Regions from separate parts of the Homo sapiens genome. Here region 2 is linked to region 1. The links are contacts of gene promoters, found by promoter capture Hi-C in blood cells and fetal thymus (Javierre and others, 2016). All regions are on one chromosome and are shown on one strand. The core of a region is centred on a gene start or on the middle of the fragment in contact, and the rest is flanking DNA. Distances in the headings are between cores, read along the strand shown. Region 1 holds the start of HTR1A (5-hydroxytryptamine receptor 1A). Region 2 holds the start of RNF180 (ring finger protein 180).

Evidence for each region. The method cuts DNA at HindIII sites, captures the fragments that hold promoters and counts their contacts. A CHiCAGO score of 5 or more calls a contact.
Region 2: a contact is called between the fragment with the promoter of RNF180 here and the fragment with the promoter of HTR1A in region 1, in 2 of 17 cell types (naive CD8 T cells and non-activated CD4 T cells). The highest score is 6.1, in naive CD8 T cells.

The regions. Positions count from the first base shown.
Region 1 is chr5:63,960,119-63,965,804 of GRCh38, reverse strand. It overlaps HTR1A (5-hydroxytryptamine receptor 1A), which reads left to right and starts at 3,360. Exons shown (of 1, transcript NM_000524.4): 1 at 3,360-5,686. The coding sequence starts at 4,086. The coding sequence ends at 5,354. RefSeq lists an enhancer at 3,646-4,623 and a silencer at 5,262-5,483. The HindIII fragment of the contact is 6,748 bases long and covers 667-5,686 here.
Region 2 is chr5:64,162,858-64,168,543 of GRCh38, reverse strand. RNF180 (ring finger protein 180) reads right to left here and starts at 2,701. Exons shown (of 8, transcript NM_001113561.2): 1 at 2,591-2,701. The HindIII fragment of the contact is 6,760 bases long and covers 1-5,686 here.

The sequences.
Region 1 (5,686 bases), core at 2,111-4,610:
CCAAATTATGTAAGGAAAATTTCCTATAAGTTGTTTCTCCTAGTCATTTCCAATCAAAATTCATAGTTCTGAACAAAACACAATTGCCCTACTGCTACAGTATTTGGGGATTGGGAAGAATTAAATTTAGAATAATATTTTTAACCTAACAAAATAATTGATTCTAATTTCAATTACATGAAAAAAAAGTAAAAACTTTTTTTTCAGTAGGAGCTTTTAGAAACAACTTTTATAATCTCATAAGCAAATATTCAACTCTTTACTGTATAGATTCTTTCTTCAGTAATAAAAACAATTCAGCCGTAGTTTGGGGATAATGGACAAACATACCAATTACTGAGAAACTCCAACCATCAGCCTTCAGTAATGATAGGGCTTCAAGGTTCACAGCAAAACTTCAGCTTAAATCTTTTTAGTTTGTGTCCCTGGTCAAGGAATTACATTGAAATGCTGGGTGTGTATCAAATTTCCTGTGAAAATGTTAAAAATATTTATCTTTTTAAAACTATTTTAGAGAAATTTCACATGATGGATGATATATCATACCCTAAATTCATAACCTGACAAGTTTATGCTGGCATCTAGTAAATTCAAAAAGGAATAAAGGCAGAATGACTAGAATTTTTCTTTTCAAATGATATCATCAATAATATCCGTTATAAAGCTTGCTTTTCTTTAGGTTAACTTTAGAGGCCTTGAAGAATAAGAGCTCATCTCTTTATGCAGGAGCTTTGGTTTGCAGCATTTACTTAAGAAATATTTGGTATTCTGTATCTTTAAGAGTTAAACATAGAAGAATTGGCTAAGTGAAAATGAAGAAACGCAATATCATTCTGCATATATCATTTATTATATATCACAGTATTATTAGTTTTAAAAAGTTAAACATAAATATCTATTAGTCACTTGCAGACTATGGAACCATAGTCAGTGCTGCATACTTTCATACTTCTGTTTCCCTCCTAGTATTCATAAGTGTGCCTTTAAAAACTTTTAAATTGTAAGAAATAAAATGTTTGATATATTATGTATATTATTACTAAGAAAAAACTTGAATTACTTTGGATTTTTAAAAACTTTGATAAATTCTACATCATAGCATATTGAAGCAGAATAACAAATGCTATACCTCAGGAATATTAATTCCAGATTTTACAGCATTTTAACTTTCTTGATGAGAAAAAATAAATTTGTCAGTTATTAAACTATTTGGGATCCAACAGATGAAAGCAGAATTCTAACTAACATATTTATTGATTTATTTGTGATTTACATATTTACATGTGTTGTTTGACACAATTCTTAATTATGTTCTTGATATGCATATATTTGCTTCTTAAATTTTAAGTTTCCTTTATTTTACTTTGTTTATAGTCTCAACTATAATTTCAAAGTTTAATTTTAGATAATTCAGCTTTTAAATATTTTCCCATTATAATTTTTGGACCTCTAACTCTATTTTAACTGTAAATATAGTTCTGTATTTGTGAAGAGACTTTAGAAGTGGAAATAGATACCTTCACAAATCTTAAAAAGACTTCTTCAGAGTCTGTAAACAGCATTACCATGTATACTTATCTCTTTCTTTTCAATGCCATGAATCATCACAAATGGCAGGCTCATTGTGGTGGCATGCTGAAATGATTGAGTGGGAACTGTGCCCAGCACTGAACTATAAAAAAAAAAAACAAACAAAACCTTATCCAAACACACTGTCCTGTATTGTAATGCATTGGCCCAACTGGATTCTTTTTGATGCTTTGGTGATTGCTCTTTTGTTTGGGCTTGGAGAATTCAGAGCTATGAAATTCAGAGCTCAGATTTGAACACAATATTAAGATTATTGCAATCTGTAGTGAATCTGTTCATGTTATCCAGTGTCAACTGCTTTTGAGATTGCATTCCTTTCACCTCAGGCATGCAATCAGGATGTATAAGTGAAATGTTGTGTGGTATGTTTACTGTAGTTGCTTAGAAGTCCCATTCTTTACCAATGCTCAAATGTGATTAAATTTGTTTTTCTTGTTAAAGGAAACAGCTTAGAACAAACCCTTGTAAGTATCTTTATTTTCAGTGATTTAACATTTCCAAATGTTAAATCATTTGGAAAATGCAATACTATTCGTTTCTCCAACAAAAGGTAAATTTATGTCAGTTCCAAAGTTCAGGTTATGACAGCACAAAACCAACACAGGTGAAAGTGTTAGCCTAGCTTTATTAAAATGGCATTCCCAGTTAGAACTTGTGAATGACAGATACTTCAGGCTTTCGAAGGAAGCTAAAACATATAATAGGCCTGATATATAAGGTTCAGAGCAAAAGAGGGCACTAAAATAAATTTTTAAAGAAAATAGGAAGGAGACAAAACTCAATACTACCTTGTCTTTTAATAACTGTCTTCCTCTTTCTAAAAGTTGTTGTATTTCCTCAATACTTGCTTCATTTCTGCATAAGGGTTTCCAGATGGCACTCTAAAACATTTGCCAGAAGGTGGCGACATAAAACCTCATTGCTTAGAACTGTCCCAGGTGCTGAACCCAGTTTCTGAGATTAAGAGAGGCTAGCCGGCTAGCGAACCGGGATTCCACCAAGTTTCCCCCAGAGGTTTGCAGGCTCTGGTAAGAAGTGCAAAAGGCCATGTGAAATGCCAGGCTTCACTTAGAACACATATGCAAAATATTTCCATCCCTGAATTTACTAGCCACAAAGCTATGGGAAGTGGCAGTGTCACTGAAATTACAAGTGTAGTAGTGATGGAAAAGTGTGTGTGTGTTTAGAATATATATCACACTGAGTTTTGTTCTTCATTTCGAGATGCAGTTGTTTACCTCTCCTTGTCCTTTGACACGTCCTTTATAATTTCGTTCTCTCCCGGTTCCCCAACGTTAAAAAAAAAGTCACAGGCAATATTCTCCCTGAGGGAGTAAGGCTGGACTGTTAGATGATAACGGAGGTACCGTTTTGTTGTTGTTGTCGTCGTTGTTCGTTTGTTTTTGGAGACGGAGTCTCGCTCTGTCGCCCAGGCTGGAGTGCAATGGCGCGAGAACGGAGGTAGCTTTTTAAAAAGGAAGACACACTCGGTCTTCTTCCATCAATTAGCAATAATTGGGAGACTGACCCAGGACTGTTCACCTTCCCATTCAGGCTCCCTATGCTTCCTTTTCTCATCTCCTATTGCCACTCTGGGATGCTGACACGATTTAAGAATTTGGCAGATAATATGAGGCAAGGAGTAGTTGGAATTCCCTCCCCCAAGTTTTTCCAACCCCAGTTTTGCTGGGTTGGAGGCGGAGTTTATTTGTTACAACCTTGGTCTGACCGGCAGGGATCTGGTGTGTGTAAGTGAGTTCTGAGTCTCTGTTGACAAAAAGAGACTCGAATGCAAAGACGCTGAGCTAGAGGGAGAGGAGGGCGGGGACCCAGAGGAAAGAGGCACTCCTCGGGGTTGGGGAAGTATTAGGAGGGGAGGGTTAGAGTGGGAGGGAAGGAGCCTGGCTTTCGAAGCGACTCACAGAGGGATAAATAAAGGGAAGTGAGGAGGAAGAGGGAGACTGAAAGGGAAGGCAGGTGGGGAGAAGGGGGACGAAAGAGGCAGAAGAGAGAGAAGAGAGGAGGAGAGAGGGGGAGAGAGGGAAGGAAGGAAATAGGGAGAGGAGGGTCACAGAGTGACCGTGGAGGATGGGGCTTCTCGGTTCTAGATATTTCTGGGATTGGAGACTGTTTGCTAGTGGGGAGACTCCAGCTCCGGCAGCCAGTTCGGGAGCGGCAAAGTAAAATGGACAGCGACAGACAGACGTTCCAGCCACCTCTCCGCCGCCGGGAGATCCTGGAGCTGCTTTCAGGCCAACTCCAGTTTCCCAGCTGGAGCTTCTGAACGCGCTGGACTGCGAGAGCCCAGGGAGCGCCTGAAAGCTGCTCCTCGGAGATACCCTTCGCCGAAGCAGTAAGAACTTCCTGCTTGGGTCTCTGCATTCCCTTCCTCCGAAACTTCCCAGGAGAAGGGCGGAAGACCCCAGGGGAAGGGGCGAGGCGAATCTTCGCGCTGCTTTTTCTTCCCTCCCCCTTCCCGCGCCGGGCGCGCAGGCATGGATGTGCTCAGCCCTGGTCAGGGCAACAACACCACATCACCACCGGCTCCCTTTGAGACCGGCGGCAACACTACTGGTATCTCCGACGTGACCGTCAGCTACCAAGTGATCACCTCTCTGCTGCTGGGCACGCTCATCTTCTGCGCGGTGCTGGGCAATGCGTGCGTGGTGGCTGCCATCGCCTTGGAGCGCTCCCTGCAGAACGTGGCCAATTATCTTATTGGCTCTTTGGCGGTCACCGACCTCATGGTGTCGGTGTTGGTGCTGCCCATGGCCGCGCTGTATCAGGTGCTCAACAAGTGGACACTGGGCCAGGTAACCTGCGACCTGTTCATCGCCCTCGACGTGCTGTGCTGCACCTCATCCATCTTGCACCTGTGCGCCATCGCGCTGGACAGGTACTGGGCCATCACGGACCCCATCGACTACGTGAACAAGAGGACGCCCCGGCGCGCCGCTGCGCTCATCTCGCTCACTTGGCTTATTGGCTTCCTCATCTCTATCCCGCCCATGCTGGGCTGGCGCACCCCGGAAGACCGCTCGGACCCCGACGCATGCACCATTAGCAAGGATCATGGCTACACTATCTATTCCACCTTTGGAGCTTTCTACATCCCGCTGCTGCTCATGCTGGTTCTCTATGGGCGCATATTCCGAGCTGCGCGCTTCCGCATCCGCAAGACGGTCAAAAAGGTGGAGAAGACCGGAGCGGACACCCGCCATGGAGCATCTCCCGCCCCGCAGCCCAAGAAGAGTGTGAATGGAGAGTCGGGGAGCAGGAACTGGAGGCTGGGCGTGGAGAGCAAGGCTGGGGGTGCTCTGTGCGCCAATGGCGCGGTGAGGCAAGGTGACGATGGCGCCGCCCTGGAGGTGATCGAGGTGCACCGAGTGGGCAACTCCAAAGAGCACTTGCCTCTGCCCAGCGAGGCTGGTCCTACCCCTTGTGCCCCCGCCTCTTTCGAGAGGAAAAATGAGCGCAACGCCGAGGCGAAGCGCAAGATGGCCCTGGCCCGAGAGAGGAAGACAGTGAAGACGCTGGGCATCATCATGGGCACCTTCATCCTCTGCTGGCTGCCCTTCTTCATCGTGGCTCTTGTTCTGCCCTTCTGCGAGAGCAGCTGCCACATGCCCACCCTGTTGGGCGCCATAATCAATTGGCTGGGCTACTCCAACTCTCTGCTTAACCCCGTCATTTACGCATACTTCAACAAGGACTTTCAAAACGCGTTTAAGAAGATCATTAAGTGTAAGTTCTGCCGCCAGTGATGACGGAGGAGTAGCCGGCCAGTCGAGGCTACAGGATCCGTCCCATTCACTATGCTTCCCCCAACCCTAGGGAATCAACACTTAAGATAATTCGCCACTTCTCCTCTTTCTCTCTGCTCCGCTCACGGCTTGCAGACCTGGTCCCCTCCCCACTTCCTGCTCCACGGCAGGGCCCTTTGTGCAAAGGAGACCCAGCGGAGGAGCGTTGAGAGCCCAGGAAATTCAGAGAGTTTGTGAGAAGCGACATTGGCTCAGACTTCGCCTGTATCATCAGTTTTGATCCCAGTAATTGCCTCTTCTCTCTTCTATCTCCTAAATCTTTGCGGTGGATG
Region 2 (5,686 bases), core at 1,452-3,951, 200 kb before region 1:
AATATCTGATTTCTAAGAAATCAATGTGATGAAAAGAGATAATTGATAGGTTACAACAGAGATTACATGCAAATGTGCACATACACACAGAACTTCAGCCTACAAGTAAGCACTGTCCCCTTTGTAGTAGACTTCTGGGAAGGTTGCAAATTCTAACAATGTCTGTCATTATTTTAAACTATTTTTAAACTGCCCTTTTAAAACTGCCTTCGTAGCCATCAGGACAATCCTTTAAATATCCTTAATAGTGGTAAAATCTTGAAGGTAGAACTGAGTTTTACAACCATGTAGAAATCATTCTGCCAAATTTAGCAAAGAAAATAGGTACTCAAGCTGAATTAGTTTTTTGATTAAAAAATAGAAACAAAAACAAGTGTTTATGAATGTTATCATGAAATGTTTTTATTTTGCTTGTAAATTGACTAGAAATTTCAAAAAATACAAAATAATTATGAATGGCAGCAGCACTACTGGAATAAGTTTTTAGCCTCCTGAGGTGACTACTTGGAATGACCACTCTCTAAAAATATAAACGACAGCACGTTTAAGGAGGGAAAATGTTTCAAGACTCTGCAATCACATTTCAAAGTTACAAAGCTGCTTTCTTCCGTGGAGTTCAAACTACTTTCGAGATATTACTTCATTAATTCCCCAAATATCCCTATGAAGGAAAGGACACATCACCATTCTTTTTTCAGATGGCCAAATGGAGGTGGTATAAGGGAGAGAGAACTGTGTTTATTCCATGAAAGCAACAATTAAGTCTAAGCACACTGTCCCCTTGTACTATGTAGTTAGCAAAATTTAAGCGAAATTTTTAATCTTTATGCTCCTTAATGAAAAAGACATTGTAAGAGTAAAAAGCATTATCATTCAGGTAGCTATGTCATATTACAGAAATATATTAAAATGATTAATTTATTGCATTCTTGCCTGGAAGAATTCCTGCTTCATGTATGAGGTGCTTATTAAAGAGGCTGGTGTCGGTCCTCAGACACACTCAAAAAAGTGCTAATTAAGTCTATTTTATCAAGAAAGAAATCTTGTTGATTTTTTCAATATTATTTTTTGAATTTTCGAAGAAAAAATCTTCACTTTGAAAAACCAAACACACAAAAAATGAAAGAGAGGAAGAAAAATGGGGTAATAAAATACCATTGACAAAACTAAGAGCAAACCCTAGGGAAACTGGTAAATTGTTGATGGTTCCAGAGAGATAAAGTACAACATAACACGTACACAATTACGAGATAATTTTTCATTACAATAATTAAAATGACTATTCTCCTAAATTTTTGATTCTTTATGAGAAAAAACTTACTCAAATATTCCGGGAAACCTAACAGCTCGCCTCCTCGATTCTACTTATTAAATAAATATTTAGAGTTTCTGCCATTGTCACCAAAGTATCTTTGGGCTGCCAGTGGCACTACATTTATACAAGAGACGAAAGTCTGACAGATAAAAGACAACGGAATTTTACTTCTTTCTACGACTCAAATGATACCACTCATTTGAAACTGAAGTGTTTATGATCTTTCAAGTATCACTTTTAGGGGTACTATAACAGGAGTCTGAAAGGAATTGACTCTATTTTTTAAGAAAGGTTTTAACAATTAATGAGTATATAAAAATACAATGAGCATCAGACCGTCCATCTTTGAGAGCTAAATTTTGTTTGAGACTAAGAGACCAACTGGACCAAGGACAACTCTAGTCAGACAAGTTCTAATCACAGATTCCACAAGGATTGACTGCTTAGTTTTGATATAATCACTTTGCCTCTTGGGTGCCTCAGCTGTCTGGTCTATAAAATGGGATAATAGTAACCCGACCGCATAATGCTCCTTTGAAGTTAACTAATGAATGCTCTCACAGATACACTTACAACTGTTAGATGCTACGAAAATAATGAGCACTATCTCGAAAAAAAACAAGGTGGAATATATGTGTTAGTGTTCATAACAGCACTAGTAATTTCCCACCAAAGGACCATCTCCCCACCTCCGCCCGATGGATTTCAGAGCTTATGACCTCTGCCTAGCAGAAAGTCGTACACTCCGGACCCAAGGCTGCAACAAAAGCGACTGCGACGCCGATACTGAAATGGGCTAGACAAAGGAAAGTGGAACCGTGCAGAGGGAATCGGCCGTGGAAGGGGCTGTGTGGTCCCCACAAGCTCCGAAATTAAACAAGACGCAGTTCCCCACCTCAGACCTGGAGAGGGTTCAGTACTGGACCCCTGGCACCCACCCCACCTTCCCCGGCCTCCTCCGCCACACCTACAGCGCCTCGCCTCCAGGACTCAGCTTTTTCGACCCTGTGTAATTCCAACCTCCAGGTGGGCGCGCCCCGAGGCCGCTCCGAGAGCCTCAGGTGCGAAAGTTAAGCCGCGGCCGCGTCACCTGAGGCCCGCCGGGCGAGAGGCGGCCAGGCCAGCGGCAACCCTAGCCCAGCCCCTTGGCACGTCCCCGCCTGGGCCAACGTGGGGGCCCGGGCCACCGCGGCTGGGTAGGGCCCGGCCGAGGCCAGGTCCCTCCGAGAGGCGCCGCCGCCGCGCCCCGCCCGACTCCGACCCGCCGGCCTTTACCTGTATCCACGTCCCGGAGCCTCCGGCTTCGCGCCCCGTCCCGGCGCTCCCGGCCGCCAGCAGCCAGGCTCTGAGGACTCGCTGCGGCTCCGGCGGCGGCGATGCCGGTTCGGCGAGACGGGAAGCGACAGGAGCCAAACCCCGCGGAAAGCGCTCGAGCTGTGCCTGCAGCCCCGACCCCGCGGCCTCGGACGTGGCGCCCCGGCGCTCGCCCGCCACAGCCAGCGGCCCTGCTCGCCCCACGTCTGCGGGTTCCCACCCGAGCCGCGCGTGGGCGGCGCCGGGCTTTGACCCCGCGCAGGCAGACAAGCGCCGCGGGCCAGACGGAACCGTGGGAAAGTTTTTCTCCCTTGTCATCCCCTTACCAGAGCCACAGAAATTATCCCTGTGGTCTCCCTTGTCCTCACTCGGCCTTTTCTGGAGTTAAGAGATCCAAGCCAACTACTGGGTCTGTTCCCTGCTAAAATCTTAGGCCGGCGTCCCATCCACCCATCCCCATGCCTAGGACTTTTAAGCTGGCAACGCTACCTGGGTTTAGTTTTCCCTTCGTATATCACTATCTTCGTTGCTTACCTTCTTGTGCCTAAAGTTCCACCGATGTGCAAGGAGATTAACCACTAAAGTGCACCTGACACTACTCTTGACAAATTGCAGTTGGGAGGTGAGTTGATGACTGGCGGTAAATCAAAAGTGCTTATTTAGGGAGTGAGGGGGCCGCGTGCAGTAAATGTTGACTTGCAGGTGCCTCATAGATGATCAAACGACTATAAATAAGATTCGGAATATAAAAAGCAAGTTTTATTAGTTGGCTTGAGGAGAGGGAAGGGAGCTAGGAGGGAACCTCAAAAAAAATATACAGCTTTGTTTCTCTGCTAGATACAGAAATTTTTATTTGCCTGAAGTGGCTTACTTGGAAACTTGTCCTAAGATTAGGGCTGTATGCAGTGACTTCCCATCTGGAAATACAAGGAAATAAAGAACAAAATGAAAGACATCACGAGAAAACTACAGACCAATATACCTTATGCATAGTAACATAAAAATCCTCAACAAAATACTAGCAAGCCAAACCCAGCAACATTTTAAAAAATTATACAACATGACCAAGTAGGATTTATCTCAGGAATGCAAGTTTGGTGTGACATACAAAATTAATGTAACACACTACTTTAAATAGACTAAATGTAAAAACCACATGATCATCTCAAAAGATGAAGGAAAAGCAATTGACAAAATCTAACACCCTTTCTTGATATAAACACTTCAACTAGGAATAAAAGGAAACTTCTTCAACCTAATAAAGAGCCTCTGAAAAATCCATAATTAACATCATACTTAATCTTGAAAGAATGAACATTTTCACCTAAAATCAGGAATAAGACAAGGATGTCAATTGTTGCTACTTCTATTCAACATTATAGTGGAGGCACTAGCCAGGGCAGTTAGGCAAGGAAAGGTGGAATATCTAACAGCTAGTAGAACAAAGAGAAGAAAGATAATTACCAAAGAAAACGAGGACAACAGTTCTCAGAGCTAAAGGACAGAAGCACATGAGCTCTCAGTTTAATGGATAAAAATTTTCTATAACCAAGTTGTGAAATTTCAAACCACATGAGTCAGAGAGATCTTAACTTTCATGGAGGAAAAAATAGGAGGTGATTTATGAAGATTTAGAAATCAGAATGGCATTGGATTCTCAACAGAAACATAAATAAAAGATAAATTCTGAGAAAAAAATGATTTCCAATTTTGAAATTGATGAAGTATGAGGTTTAAAAAGACATTTTCAAATATACAAAGGTTTAAATAGTATTTTCATGCATTCTTTCTCAGGAAGCAATTGGAGGATGTATTCTATAACAAAGTGGTTAGACAGAGAATCTGATAGAAAAGAGAAGTGAAGGTGACACCCGCAACAACTGTGGTAGGCAGAATGGCTCCCCCAAAATGTCCACATTCTAATCTCTGGATCCTGCAAAGATGTTACAGTATATAGAAAAGGGACTTTACTGATGTCATAAAAGTGACTGACCCAAATAGGGAGACTATTTCGGATTACCTACGTAGGCCCAGCCTAATCACATGAATCTTTAAAAGCAGAAAACTTTCTCCACCTAGAATCAGAAAGATGAGATGGCAAGAAATGTCAGAGAGCTTTGAAGCCTGAGAGAGACTTGACCTTCCTTTCCGGGAGGGAACCACCCTGGAAACACCCAAGAGGGAGAATGTGGGTAACTTCTAGAGGAAAAGATTGGCCTCCTGGCTGAATTTGCAGTGCTTCCTTTTTAAAGAAATAAACTTTTGGAGGTACAAGATTTATTACAAACAGGACTGAAAGAAGAAAGACAAGATGAAAGTCTTGATGCTTTCTAATTCAGTAATGTAATATAATCTCTTATTTCTGATGAAATCACAGGGATGAACTCAGAGAAATGATAAGGTTGACAAGTTTCACAAATAAAAACACAGGATGCCCAGTTAAAATTGAATTTTGGATAAACAGTGAATTAATTCTTAGTATAAAACACACTAAAAATATTTGGTTACTAAAAGTTAAAATTTAACTGGGTGTCCCATATTTATTGAGCAACCTTAAAAAGTGTAACTTCTGAGCAATGATTCTCAACCTTGGAAGCACATTGGAATAACCTGGAGTGCTTGTGAAAATACCAATGCCCTGTTCTTACTGTGGTACAATTCAATCAGAATTTCTTGATGTGGGATATCAGATGATTCTAAAGAAAAGTCAAGTATGAGAACCCATGACTCTAGAGAGGAATTAATTTGCACAGGTGTGATAAACTAAAAACAACCTCTCCAGTCATTTTACAACCAGAAGTGAAGAAACACTTTTTCCTTTAATAAACATCTTAACAAATATTCATCATCTCAAAGGTACAAACGAAGAGTATGATTTTCAATATTTCAGGAAGATCATTTACATTTTAGTAAAAAGACAGACAAAAACTCAGCTTTATGATTATAAGATACAAAATAAGTACAGATTTATTTTAACTACTAGGTAATTAGTATCTAAATATTAACTAACATTATCTCTCATCACACCGGATATAATGGCTAGCTGAATCTTTAGTC